3 separate regions of the Homo sapiens genome follow, and regions 1 and 3 are each linked to region 2. The links are contacts of gene promoters, found by promoter capture Hi-C in blood cells and fetal thymus (Javierre and others, 2016). All regions are on one chromosome and are shown on one strand. Each heading gives the region's core, a stretch centred on a gene start or on the middle of the fragment in contact. The rest is flanking DNA. Distances are from core to core; before and after follow the strand shown.

Region 1 (3,826 bases), core at 1,157-3,656, 180 kb after region 2:
CTCATTTGTGATTTACTTCTTTAGATATACATTATGGTTTGCAAAATTCATTCATGTTGATGGACATTGCTATGGCTGTATATTTTCACTGCTGAATAGTAATCCATTGATTTATTTATCCTTTTTCTATTGCTAGACATTGGATTGTTTCTGGTTTCTTACTATCATTAATGCTGCTATAAACCTTTGAATATATCTATCCTGGTGTCCGTCTGCAAGGGGTTTTCTGTTGTATGTCCCTAGAAATAAAACTGATGGGTACGTACATTTTCAACTTTACTAAAGATGAACTGTCCAAAGTAGTTATTCTAATTTACACCTCCACAATCATTATTTCAAATTTACACTCCCACAATTATTATCCAAGTCAATATTTGCTAATTTCAGCACTTTTGCTCATCTAAAAGGTGTTAAAAAATACAGACATCTTTATCAGACTAAGAAAGTGCGCTGTAACCTATCAAATGGTAAAGTGCATTAAATGCATTTCTAATTCAATCTAATTGTATTTATTTAATTTCTCATATTAAACCAACTCTCCCTTCCTGGGATAAACTGAATTGTGTCATGATTTATTATCATCTTCCAGATTGAGCCTGGTAACATTTTGTTTAGGATTTTTGTATTTGTGTCATGAATGCACTTCCATTTTCCTTTCTCATAATATCTTCAGATTATCCATTTAACTCAAAATGACTTAAGGAGTGTTCCCCCTTTTGTCATGCTCTAGAAGAATCTGTATTAAGTGTGAAATTATTTCTTTACCTCTGAATGAAAAACTAGCATATAAAGACTTATGGACCTAGAATTTTCTTTCTGGGAATATTTATAACCACTGATTTAATTTCTTAAATGATTATAGGACTATTCAGGTTTTCTACTTCTTCATGAAAACAGTTTAATTTTTTTCTGGCTATTTGTCTAATTCATCTAAGTTTTCTAATATATTGGCATAAAAAGTTGCTCAAATAATGTCATTTATTGTTAAAGTCATGTCTCCCTTTTCATTCTTAATATTTATCATTTATGCCTTTTGTTCTTCTTGACATATCAGATAATTGTCAATTTTATCAGTTTTCAAAGAAATCTACTGTGACTTGTTCATTTATTTAATAAATACTGAGAGGCTAACATGTGCCTCTTATTTGAGATATAAAAGTAAACAAAAATCCTTGCACTTACAATTCAAATGTAAACAGGAAGGCAAAAACAATATACTAAAATTTAAAATAAATTATACAATATTTTAAGGAGTGATAAGTGATATGGAAGAAAGTAGGGGGACTCCAGATGGCTGGTGTAGTTGTGAAAGGGACGAAATCACAATTCTAAATACAGTGGTTTGGATTGGCCTCATGGAGAAGGCGGCATTTAAGTGAAGACTTGAAGGATATGAGGTTACTGACCCACTCTATTCTGTGTTTTCTATTAATGTCCATATTTGTTCTTATTATTTCCTTTCTTCTCCTTCCTTCTATATTTGTTCTTATTATTTCCTTCCTTCTCCTTTGGGTTTTATTCTTTTTCTGAATTCTTGAGAAGGATACCTAGGATCATTAATTTTTAGCCTTTTTTCTTCTTCTAATATAAATATTTAGGTCTACATATTTCCCTCTAAGTATTGCTTTACATACATTCCACAAATTTTTAAGTATTTTCCTTAACAATAAGTTTAAAATATTTTCTAATTTCCATTATATTACTTCTTGACCCATTTTAGAATGTTTTAAAAATTCCAAGCATATTGTACCTTCCTGTTTGCTACTGAATTATTTTTACCTTCAATATAATATTCATTATGATACATTCTCTGAATTGTTTTCATGCACTGAACTTTGAGAATAGTTTTGTATCATAGTATACTAGCAATTTTGGGGGAAAATGTTTGCGTGCTTAGAATCCTCTACTTGTTTGGTGTGGTGTTCTAAATATGTTTAATTCATTAGGTTTGTTTATCATGTTGCTCCAATCTTCTAAATCCTTACTGATTTTTTAAACATTATTCTATTAATTATTGAAAGAGAAAATCTTCCACTATGATTGTGGATGTGTCTATTTGTGGATGTGTCTATTTCTCCTTGTAGTTCCCTGAATTTGTGCATTGTATATTTCAAGGCTTTGTAAGTAGGTATACACAAATTTAAAATTAGATTTCCTTGGCTAATCAAGTCTTTATCATCATGCAAGGATGGTTCAACATACACAAATCAATAAATGTGATTTACCACATAAGCAGAATTAAAAACAAAAACCATATGATCATCCCAATAGACACAGAAAACCCTTTTGATAAAATCCAATATCCTTTCATGATTAAAAAAAAAAACCCTCAAAAAACTAGGTATCAAATGAACATATCTCAAACTAGTAAGAACCATCTATGTATGACAAACCCACAGCCAACATCATACTGAATAGGCAAAAGCTGAAAGCATTCCCCCTAAGAACTGGAACATGAAAAGGGTGTCCACTCTCATCATTCCTATTCAATAGTACTGGAAATCCTAGCCATACCAATCAGTCAAGAGAAAGCAATAAAAGGCATCCAAATAGGAAAAGAGAAAGTCAAATTATCTTTGTTCACTGACAACATGATCCTATGCCTAGAAAACGGTAAAGATTCCTCCAAATACCTCCTGGACCTGATAAACGACTTCAGTAAAGTTTCAGGATACAACATGCAAAAACAAGTAGCATTTCTACACACCAACAACGTTTAAGCTGAGAAGCAAATCAAGAACTCAATCCCATTTACAACAGTCATGCACACAAAAATAAAATATCTAGAAATATATTTAACCAAGGAGGTGAAATATCTCTACAAAGAGAACTACAAAACACTGCTGAAAGAAATCACAGATGGCACAAACAAATGGAAAAATAATCCATGCTCACGGATTAGAAGAATCAGTATCACTAAAATGATCACACTGCCCAAAGCAATCTACAGATTCAATGCAATTCCTATCAAATTACCAACGTTATTTTTCACAGAACTAGAAAAAACAATTCTAAAATGTATATGAAACCAAAAAAGAGCCCACACAGCCAAGGCAATCCTAAGCAAAAAGAAGAAAGCTGGAGCCATCACGTTACCAAACTTCAAAACTATACTACAGGCTGTAGCAACCAAAATAACATGGTATTGGTATAAAAATAGATCAATGGAACACAATAGAGAACCCAGAAATAAAGCCATACACCTACAACCAACTGATCTTCAACAAAGTTAGCAAAAATAAACAAACAATGGGGAAAGGACACTGGGTTCAATAAATGATGCTAGGAAAACTGGCTAGCCACTTGCAGAAGAATGAAACTGGACCCCTAACTCTTAACATATATAAAAATTAACTCAAGATGGATTAAAGACTTAAATATAAGACCTCAAACTATAATTTTTTTTTTCACTCTTGTCGCCCAGGCTGGAGTGTGTGGTGCAATCTCGGCTCACTGCAACCTCTGCCTCCCGGGTTCAAGAGATTCTCCTGCTTCAGCCTCCTGAGTAGCTGGGATTACAGGCGCCTGCCACCACGATCGGCTAATTTTTTGTATTTTTAGTAGACACGGGGTTTCGCCATGTTGGGCAGGCTGATCTCGAACTCCTGACCTCAGATGATCCGCCTGCCTTGGCCTCCCAAAGTGCTGGGACTATAGGCATGAGCCATCGTGCCCGGCCTATAATTTTTTTTAAGAGACAGAGTCTCGCTTTGTCATTCAGGAAAGAATGGGAGTGCAGTGGTGCAATCATAGCTTACTGTAATCTCAAACTCCTGGGCTCACGCAATTCTCCCACCTCAGCCTCAGGAGTAGCTAGAATTACAGA
Region 2 (3,886 bases), core at 832-3,331:
CCAGGTTGGTCTCAAACTCATGGGATCAAACAATCCACCTGCCTGGGCCTCTCAAAGTCCTGGGATTACAGGCATGAGCCACTGCACCTGGCCCCTTTCTTCTAATAGTGCCTCTCAACCATACACCTCCCACCTCATTTGTATTTGGTTAGACAAAGTGACTCCCTCAGATCAACCAGGGATTAATCCTGGAGCTCCAACACATATTTAAAACTACTGGCTTGATAGTCTAACAACATTGTAGATTACCTAGAGAGAAGCAGATACGTTATTTAAACGGATTTCTTGACCTATTTACATGATAAGATTTAATTTCCTTGAAATGCCATTTTGAAAACTGGGATTGGCATCCCTTACAGGTTCTCTAATTAGTTGCTTTCAGATTACTTGGCAAGTAAAGGACTATGTTGTTATGAACCCCACCTGCAGTATATCCCGAACAGGAATCTCCATCTTGGGTTTCTTTTTGTAAAGTCTGCATTTGACCCCTTTACACTCTTTTCCGTGTTCATAAACGTGCTCAGGGTTGGAAAAGCTGTTTCAGTAGAGATGGCATATTTCTGGTGGCATTCGGGGGCAGGTACAGGAGTTGCAGGCATCCATCGTATGCTGTCCAGCGTCTGCACGTTCCCTTGTTTGCTCCCAGTGGGTAGAGAACCCGGCATTGTGGGTACCTTATTAGAACTGTCAGGAGGTAATATTACATAAATAATGAAATAACATGTTAATGCAATTCATTACAGGTTCGTTGGAATTTATTGTTCAGGTTATTCCTTTCACTGCTCTGAGAAACATCAGGTATACTAGACTCACCTGAAGCAGGATGTAAGCGTATAATTTGTCAGACGGGCAATATGGTCTAGTGGATCCAGAATTTGAATATTATTTCTGGCTCTGCTGCTGGCTTCCTTTATGACTAGGAGGGAAATGTCTCTGGGTGTTGCCAGTTTCGGTATCTGTGGATTGATAAGCAGATCGCAAGCATGGATGTTATAATAGGTTATTTCATGGGAAATTAAACAGCAAATCTAATGAGAGGAGCGGGTTACTTGGTCATTTCTTTCTAGGTGCTATTTGGTGCTTTAAGAGGACCTCTAGTATTGGATAAGTTAAAGGAGTTTCAGAAAGTGCATCATAACAACATTACTGAGAGCTCAGAATGTGCTACATGGTTCTGAGGGCCATCTGCGTATTAACCTCATTTAATCCCTGCAGCACACCCGGAGGTCATTGCATGATATTGATGCAATTTTACAGATGAAGAAACTGAAGCACATATGGTTAAATAATTTGTCCAAGATCACAAAGCTAGTAAGCAGCAGAACTGGGGTTTGAACTCAGGTTATTTAAACTCAGAGCCCCAGTTCTTATTCCCCAGTATTTGACTCCCCTTTGCTCTCACCTGGTGATAGAAATGATAATGACCAGGCTGAGCGCAATGGCTCACACCTGTAATCCCAGCACCTTGGGAGACTGAGGCAGGTAGATCGCTTGAGCTCAGGAGTTTGAGACCAGCCTGGGCAACACAACAAAACCCCATCTCTACAAAAGATACAAAAATTAGCTGGCTGTGGTGGCATGCCCCTGTCATTTCAGTTACTTGGCAGGCTGAGGTGGGGGAGTGGCTTGAGCCCAGTAGGCAGAGATTGAAGTGAGCTGAGATCGTGCCACTGCACTCAAGCTTGGGCAACAAAGCAACACTCCATTTCCAAAAAACAAAAGAAAAAGTATGAGATTTAACTTAAAAATAATTTTCCTTCATCTGATTAGAAAGTATAATCAGGATGAGCTTTAGTGTGTTGTTTTTTGTAGAGCCGGGCGGGGACCGGGGGTGGGGGGGGGTCTCACCATGTTGCCCAGGCTGGTCTTGAACTCCTGGGCTCAAGCGATCCTCCCACCTCAGCCTCCCAAAGTGCTGGGATTACAGGTGAAAGACACTGCACCTGGACTATCTTTCTGTTATTGCTGTGGTGGGGAGCACACCAAAATAGTGCCTGTCATCCTCATCCTTCCTAGGCATCTTTCCCAGCACTGCTGCTGTGATTAGTACCTTAACTCCAGCCTAGGCAGGTGCAGTGCATCAGCGGCTCTCTTCTCTAGCTTCTTTTACCTCAGCCCAAGCCACTCTGTAGAAATGGGCTCCACCCATGTCATCTGACCTGTAGGTCTCCACTCTTTCTTCCCAGTTCTCAGATGGTTCTTGGAGCACTGGCGAAGTCAAGCGAAAATAAGGTGGTGAGTTTTCCCCAACGAAATAATTAAATTTTGGCTGATGCTGGCCTTTAGTCATCGAAGGCCGAGAAAGTACCGCCCTAACCAGGGAAAAGCAATATCAGATGTAGGCTGTTCTGTTGTGTCTCAACCTCAAAATGCTTGTGGCAAAAGGGACAAACCTCCAATAAGTCTATATTAGAGGTTCAACAGAGTTCATTGAAAACTTGAAACAAATCTGAAAAGAAAAACACTCTACAAATAGGGAAAAAAGATGGGTAGCTGAGAGTGATAAAGTGAGATTCCCCAGATATGTTGCTGTCACCACAGGCAAATCTCAAATTGTTTTCAATGGAGCTTTTGGAAATTTAAATTAATCCTGCCATTTTCAGGCTTGGTCGTTTGGAATGTGTGTTAGTGAAACGCAGTGATGTAGTTTTATAGACTGTAAGAACCTTGGAGGCACCTGAATTCTTGAAGCTAGAGATTTATTGTAGGTCTTCTCTTGTTCTCTGAGAAGAAAACCAGACTTCATATAACAAGAAGTGAGACAGAAGAACAGTTTTCAGAAGCATGTGTCACTCTGCTATTTTAGGAATTGTTCCAATAAGAGATGTTTATAGTAAGCTTGGTGTGACCCAGCCAAGAAGCTTAATATAACAAGGTTAACTGAATTGTGGGAGGAAAGTTTCTAGCCTATACCAGCTTGCATTTATTAATAATCAGAAAGGTTGCGGATGACAGACTTGCTGAGCATTTACTAAATCTGGTACTTGTGGTTTGCAAATCATGTGATTAACAGCTGCTATCATCTATCCTAGAAACGGCAGGAAGAAGTGTTATTATTTTATCACATAAAATAGTAGTCACAAAGAGAATGAAAACAGTTTAATTTGGCAGATATAAAATTCACTGGTTAAGCAGAAAACCATGCTCTGCCCTCCCACTGAGCTCACTAAAGATGGGTTTCCTGGGAATGTCTCAGTGAACAGATGTTTCTTCTTAGGTTTTGATGAAGAGTTTAGTGGCATCTAATCATTAGTGAAGGGTTGTTTTGGCAAAAGGAATCTCTTGTCTATCTACACACATACTTAAATTTTTTTTTTTACGTATATTAAGGATTTTGCATTAATTACCAATAGGATCTCACATAGATGAATCATGAATGATTGACTGGCTTTCCTAATCAAGTTTTGAATGATTTTAAAAATCAGCCTGCCTGATCTAAGGTTTGGAAGTTCAATGCTCAATAAATAACTTTAGTAAAGGGAGGAAAACATTTTAAAGGAAAAAAACAGGAAAGATAATTACATTGTTAATCTGTTTGGAGTTAGAATTTGATTCAGAAAGATTTCTACAGAGCCTTTTGAATCACCCTGAAATCTGCCAGCTTTTTCCAGGATGCTGCTTTTGTACCTCTGTATACATCATATGCCATTCTTTGCAATAAAATGCAACTTTCTTAGTGATTGAATAATATAGATGTTGATAAACACAAATTATGTCATGTTGTTTACATATACATTCCTAAAGAATAAGAAATATTGTCTACATTGTACATACGTAGTAGATTAACTCATTGAAGTCAGAACAAATGTAGATTTCTATAAGTCCCAAAGAGTATGGATGTCTTAGAGGTTGATGTTGAAGTCTGCAGTTACACTGGTGGTGAAAA
Region 3 (4,187 bases), core at 218-2,717, 200 kb after region 2:
CTTAAAATAGTGGGCTTTTAGAGGAAAGGCTTTACTGAAGCTCTCACTGTATCTACCCCATGGGGAACAATGATTAACAACTTTGGCCACCACATAACCCCCAGTAAAATGACAATTTTCCATTAGCCTGGAACTGGAACTGGTTAAGTCCTAACTCCTTAGCCTAGAATGACAGGGGGAAAAAACTATCAATGGGGACTGCAACCGCTGTCTCATCCAGCGCACACATCCAAGTTTTCAGAATAATAGGGGGCTTCTCTTAGTCCTTAACTCTTGGCTCTTTACTTAAAACAGTAACCTCCATGACTTCATGCAGAGTTCAGGAGCAGCCTCAGGGCCCTGCTGAACTCAAAATTGTTTATTCACTACATTGTGAACCCAAGGAGACCTATTTCTCTTAGTGGCTAAAGTAAACCTAAATGCTTCAAGGTCAACTGCATAAAGATAAACTGCATTGCCTGGTGTGGTGGCTCACGCCTGTAATCCCAGCATTTTGAGAGGCCAAAGTGGGTGGATCACGAGGTCTGGAGATGGAGACCATCCTGGATAACACAGTGAAACCCCGTCTCTACTAAAATAATACAAAAAATTAGCCGGGCGTGGTGATCAGCACCTGTAATCCCAGCTGCTCTGGAGGCTGAGACGGGAATCGCTTGAACCCGGGAGAGGGAGGTTGCAGTGAGCCAAGATCGCACCACTACACTCCAGCCGGGTCAACAGAGCAAGACTCCGTCTCAAAAAAAAAAAAAGATAAACTGCATTAATTCATATAAGTTAACATATCAAAGAAGAACAAATTTGCCATAGCCACACTAGTTACATTTTTGCTGGGCAAGTGTTTTATGATACATAATTTGTAAAAAGACCAACAACTAAAAAGGACAACTTAAGCCAGGTCCCTGAAAGCTTTCACAAGTTACAAATTGTGAATTAAATGAAGCTGTGCTGTTAGGCATTAAACAGGTTATAGTTTGCAATTCGAAATTACATCTATGTATATTTAATTTTAAATTATGTGAAAAGAACATGGTTCCGAAGAGGTGTTTTTTGTTTGTTTTGTTTTGAGACAGGGTCTCAAAATGAATTTTGCCCAGGTTGGAGTGGTGGAACAATCACGGCTCACTACAGCCTCAACCTCCTGGGCTCAAGCGATCCTCCCACCTCAGCCTCTCAAATAGCTGAGACTACAGGCACACGCCACCATGCCTGGCTAATATTTTTTTACTTTTAGTAGAGACAAGGTCTCACTCACTATGTTGCCCAGGCTGGTCTCAAACTCCTGAGCTCAAGCCATCCTCCAGCCCTGGCCTCCCAAAGTGCTGAGATTACAGGTACAAGCCACCATGCCCAGCCTAAGAATCATTCTTAGTAAGATTATTTCACGCTGCTAATGGCTCTCTGCCAAAAGAAAAAAAAGGAAGTTTAAAGAATGAAGTAGTTAATATAGTGGGTTAAATACCCTCATCTAATTTTACTCCCTTCCAAAACTACTAAATCTACAGTAAAATGATATAAAAATAAATTGGAAAAATGGGGACAGGAGGTAACAGCAATAAAACTCAGAAGCTGGAAAACAGGTGAATGAATGTGACTTAGCACACCAGAAAAACCCAATTCACTCTGCAGAATTCTCAAAAGGCACTGAAACACGCACCCTGAAATTGGAAGTGGACTACATGAAAGCTATTTGAGAAACACCTCTAAGTAACTCTACCCCCTTACTCCCATAGAAGACTAGAGGTTTATTTCTGGACAAAGTAATACTAGTCCCTGGACTGGGGCATCCTCAGGCATTCTAGAGAAGCACACTGGAAACAAAGTTAAGTGAATTTAGGAATACATAATGCTGGATGCAGGGCCCGCATTCCTCTTATCCTTAGAAGACTGGAAGACTCAACTCTGAGGAACTGACCAGCCCAGGAGGAGCAATCCAAGATAGTGACATCAGAGGTTCCCCAGTAAAGGCCCACCCAGAGCACCCTAAGTGAAGCCCAGAGTCTATATGCTTCACCCACGTATACAGATCTAAAAAGCTTTTTTGTCTTTTCATTCATAAGAGTAGACAGAAAAGAATGACCAGACTTTGGAAGAAAGCTCAGAAGTGATAGAGACAGAAGCAAGCAGAAAAGCAATTTGAAGTAAAACAGCTCAGAAGTGATAAGAGACAAAAGCAAGCAGAAAAGCAATTTGAAGTAAAACAACAGAAAATTTCAAGAAAGCAAGAATCAGTGAACTTGGAAAGAAAAAATGCCTACATAATATGCTTGTTATGTGAATTAGCTCATTAACTAGTAGTAAGTACAATTTAACAAGTATTAATGTAGAAGTATTTTTTTCCCTAGGAAAGAGGAGCCAGAAAAGCAGTAAATGTATGACCTTCAGTTAAGAAAAGGTCATGGCTTCACTGCTATGCTGGCGGCAAGTGTCTTTCAGATTTTTTCATTGATTCAAGTGTATATTCCAGGGTTCCTTCCCCAGAGAGGCATACCCCAAGTTCTGTGTAGCCATCGACTGAGGACAGGTAGAGTCACCTATCCTACCCACGAATTGGCAGCCTTGTGGTTTAGATGGATTTCTACTTCCATGTGTTATTTCAGCATCTCTTAGCTCTGTTCTTAGACTTTGGCTGGCATTTCTATTATTTTTTTAAGTTTTGCTGAAGTAGAATTGACACTGAATTACACTTACAAAGTATAATTCGATAAATTTGGTTCATATATATACACATCTATATATGCATATTTATAGATATATATGTGCTATAATATATACTACATATAGTATAATATATAGTATACATATTTTTGTTTCCATAGAAACAAAAATAAAAGGAATTACTATGTACTATATACTATATATATCTACTATATACTACGTAGTATGTACTACATAGTACATATAGTACATATAGTACATACTGTACTATGTAGTATATAGTAATATATATAGTACATAACTATATATGTACTACATAGTACATACTATGTAGTATATGGTAGATATATATACCATAGTATACTATATACTAAAAATGGCTGGCTACCTCTGTTTGTCAATATATATTTTAATATATTTTTGCAAGTAATAGAAATGCCAGCAAAAGTCTAAGAACAGGGCTAAGTGGTGGGAAAACTACATACTATATACTATATAGTATCTATACTAATTATATAGATTTGTATATATACATATATGTATACATACACACACACACACACACACACACACACAATGAAGCCATCACCACAATCAAGACAATAAATATATCCACTATCCACAAAGGTTGCCTTGTGCATCTTTGATTCCTTCCTGGTCTCCAGCCCCTACTCCCATTCCCAGGCTACTCTATTATAATTTTTGAGTATTTTTAACATCTCTATAGTAGTCTCCAGCTATGCTGAGAGCAATCTGAGTGGTCAAAATTAACTGTCCAGGAAGAGCAGAAATGAACAACTCAGTAGAACACTTGGAAGAAGAAAATGAGAAAATCCCCCATACAACTAAATAAAAGGCTGGGCGCAGAGGCACACACCTGTTATCCCAGCACTTTGGGAAACCAAGGAGAGTGGATCACCTCAGGTCAGGAGTTCGAGACCAGCCTGGCCAACATGGTGAAAAGCCATCTCTACTAAAAATACATAAATTAGCCATGCTTAGTGGCAGGCACCTGTAATTCCAGCTACTTGGGAGGCTGAGGCAGGAGAATCACTTGAACCCAGGAGGCGGAGGTTGCAATGAGTTGAGATCAGGCCATTGCTCTCCAGCGTGGGTGATAAGAGCGAAACTCCATGCTTAAAAAAAAAAGACAAATGGAAAATAGTACAGAAAAAAGGAAGAGAACATGTTTAGAAGTTCAAACATCCAAATAATAAAAGTTCCAGGAAGGGAGAAAAAAGAAAATGGAGGAGGGAGGAAATCATGAATGAAATCATTTAAAATTTTTTCCCAAATTGAAGGAAACAAGTGTCCAGATTGCAAGGGCCAACTGAGTGTCCAGTACAATGGATAAAAATAAATCCATTATCAACACATCACTAACATTTCAAAATCTTCATGGAGAAGATTCTGTAAGTTTCTGGGGAGAGAGAGAAAAAATACATCACATACAGAGGATCACTTACCAGGACTGCTTTGAACTTAATAGCAATGGTAAAAGCAAACAGACGAGCAACTACTTCAAAATGTTG

What was found. The method cuts DNA at HindIII sites, captures the fragments that hold promoters and counts their contacts. A CHiCAGO score of 5 or more calls a contact.
Region 1: a fragment that was not itself captured here is called in contact with the fragment with the promoter of LINC02909 in region 2 in 1 of 17 cell types (neutrophils); the score reaches 6.9 in neutrophils.
Region 3: a contact is called between a fragment that was not itself captured here and the fragment with the promoter of LINC02909 in region 2, in 1 of 17 cell types (total B cells). The highest score is 5.9, in total B cells.

Annotation. Positions count from the first base shown.
Region 1 is chr12:25,177,429-25,181,254 of GRCh38, forward strand. All of the region lies in intron 2 of DNAI7 (dynein axonemal intermediate chain 7), which reads right to left. Among named protein-coding and RNA genes, the nearest start is that of DNAI7, 16 kb to the right of the region's middle. The HindIII fragment of the contact is 7,373 bases long and covers 1-3,826 here.
Region 2 is chr12:24,995,384-24,999,269 of GRCh38, forward strand. LINC02909 (long intergenic non-protein coding RNA 2909) reads right to left here and starts at 2,082. Exons shown (of 4, transcript NR_171024.1): 1 at 1,849-2,082; 2 at 814-956; 3 at 424-684. It also overlaps a transcript of IRAG2 not described here. RefSeq lists enhancers at 2,641-2,770, 3,021-3,130. The HindIII fragment of the contact is 1,157 bases long and covers 1,680-2,836 here.
Region 3 is chr12:25,196,418-25,200,604 of GRCh38, forward strand. All of the region lies in intron 1 of ETFRF1 (electron transfer flavoprotein regulatory factor 1), which reads left to right. Among named protein-coding and RNA genes, the nearest start is that of ETFRF1, 3.3 kb to the left of the region's middle. The HindIII fragment of the contact is 1,127 bases long and covers 905-2,031 here.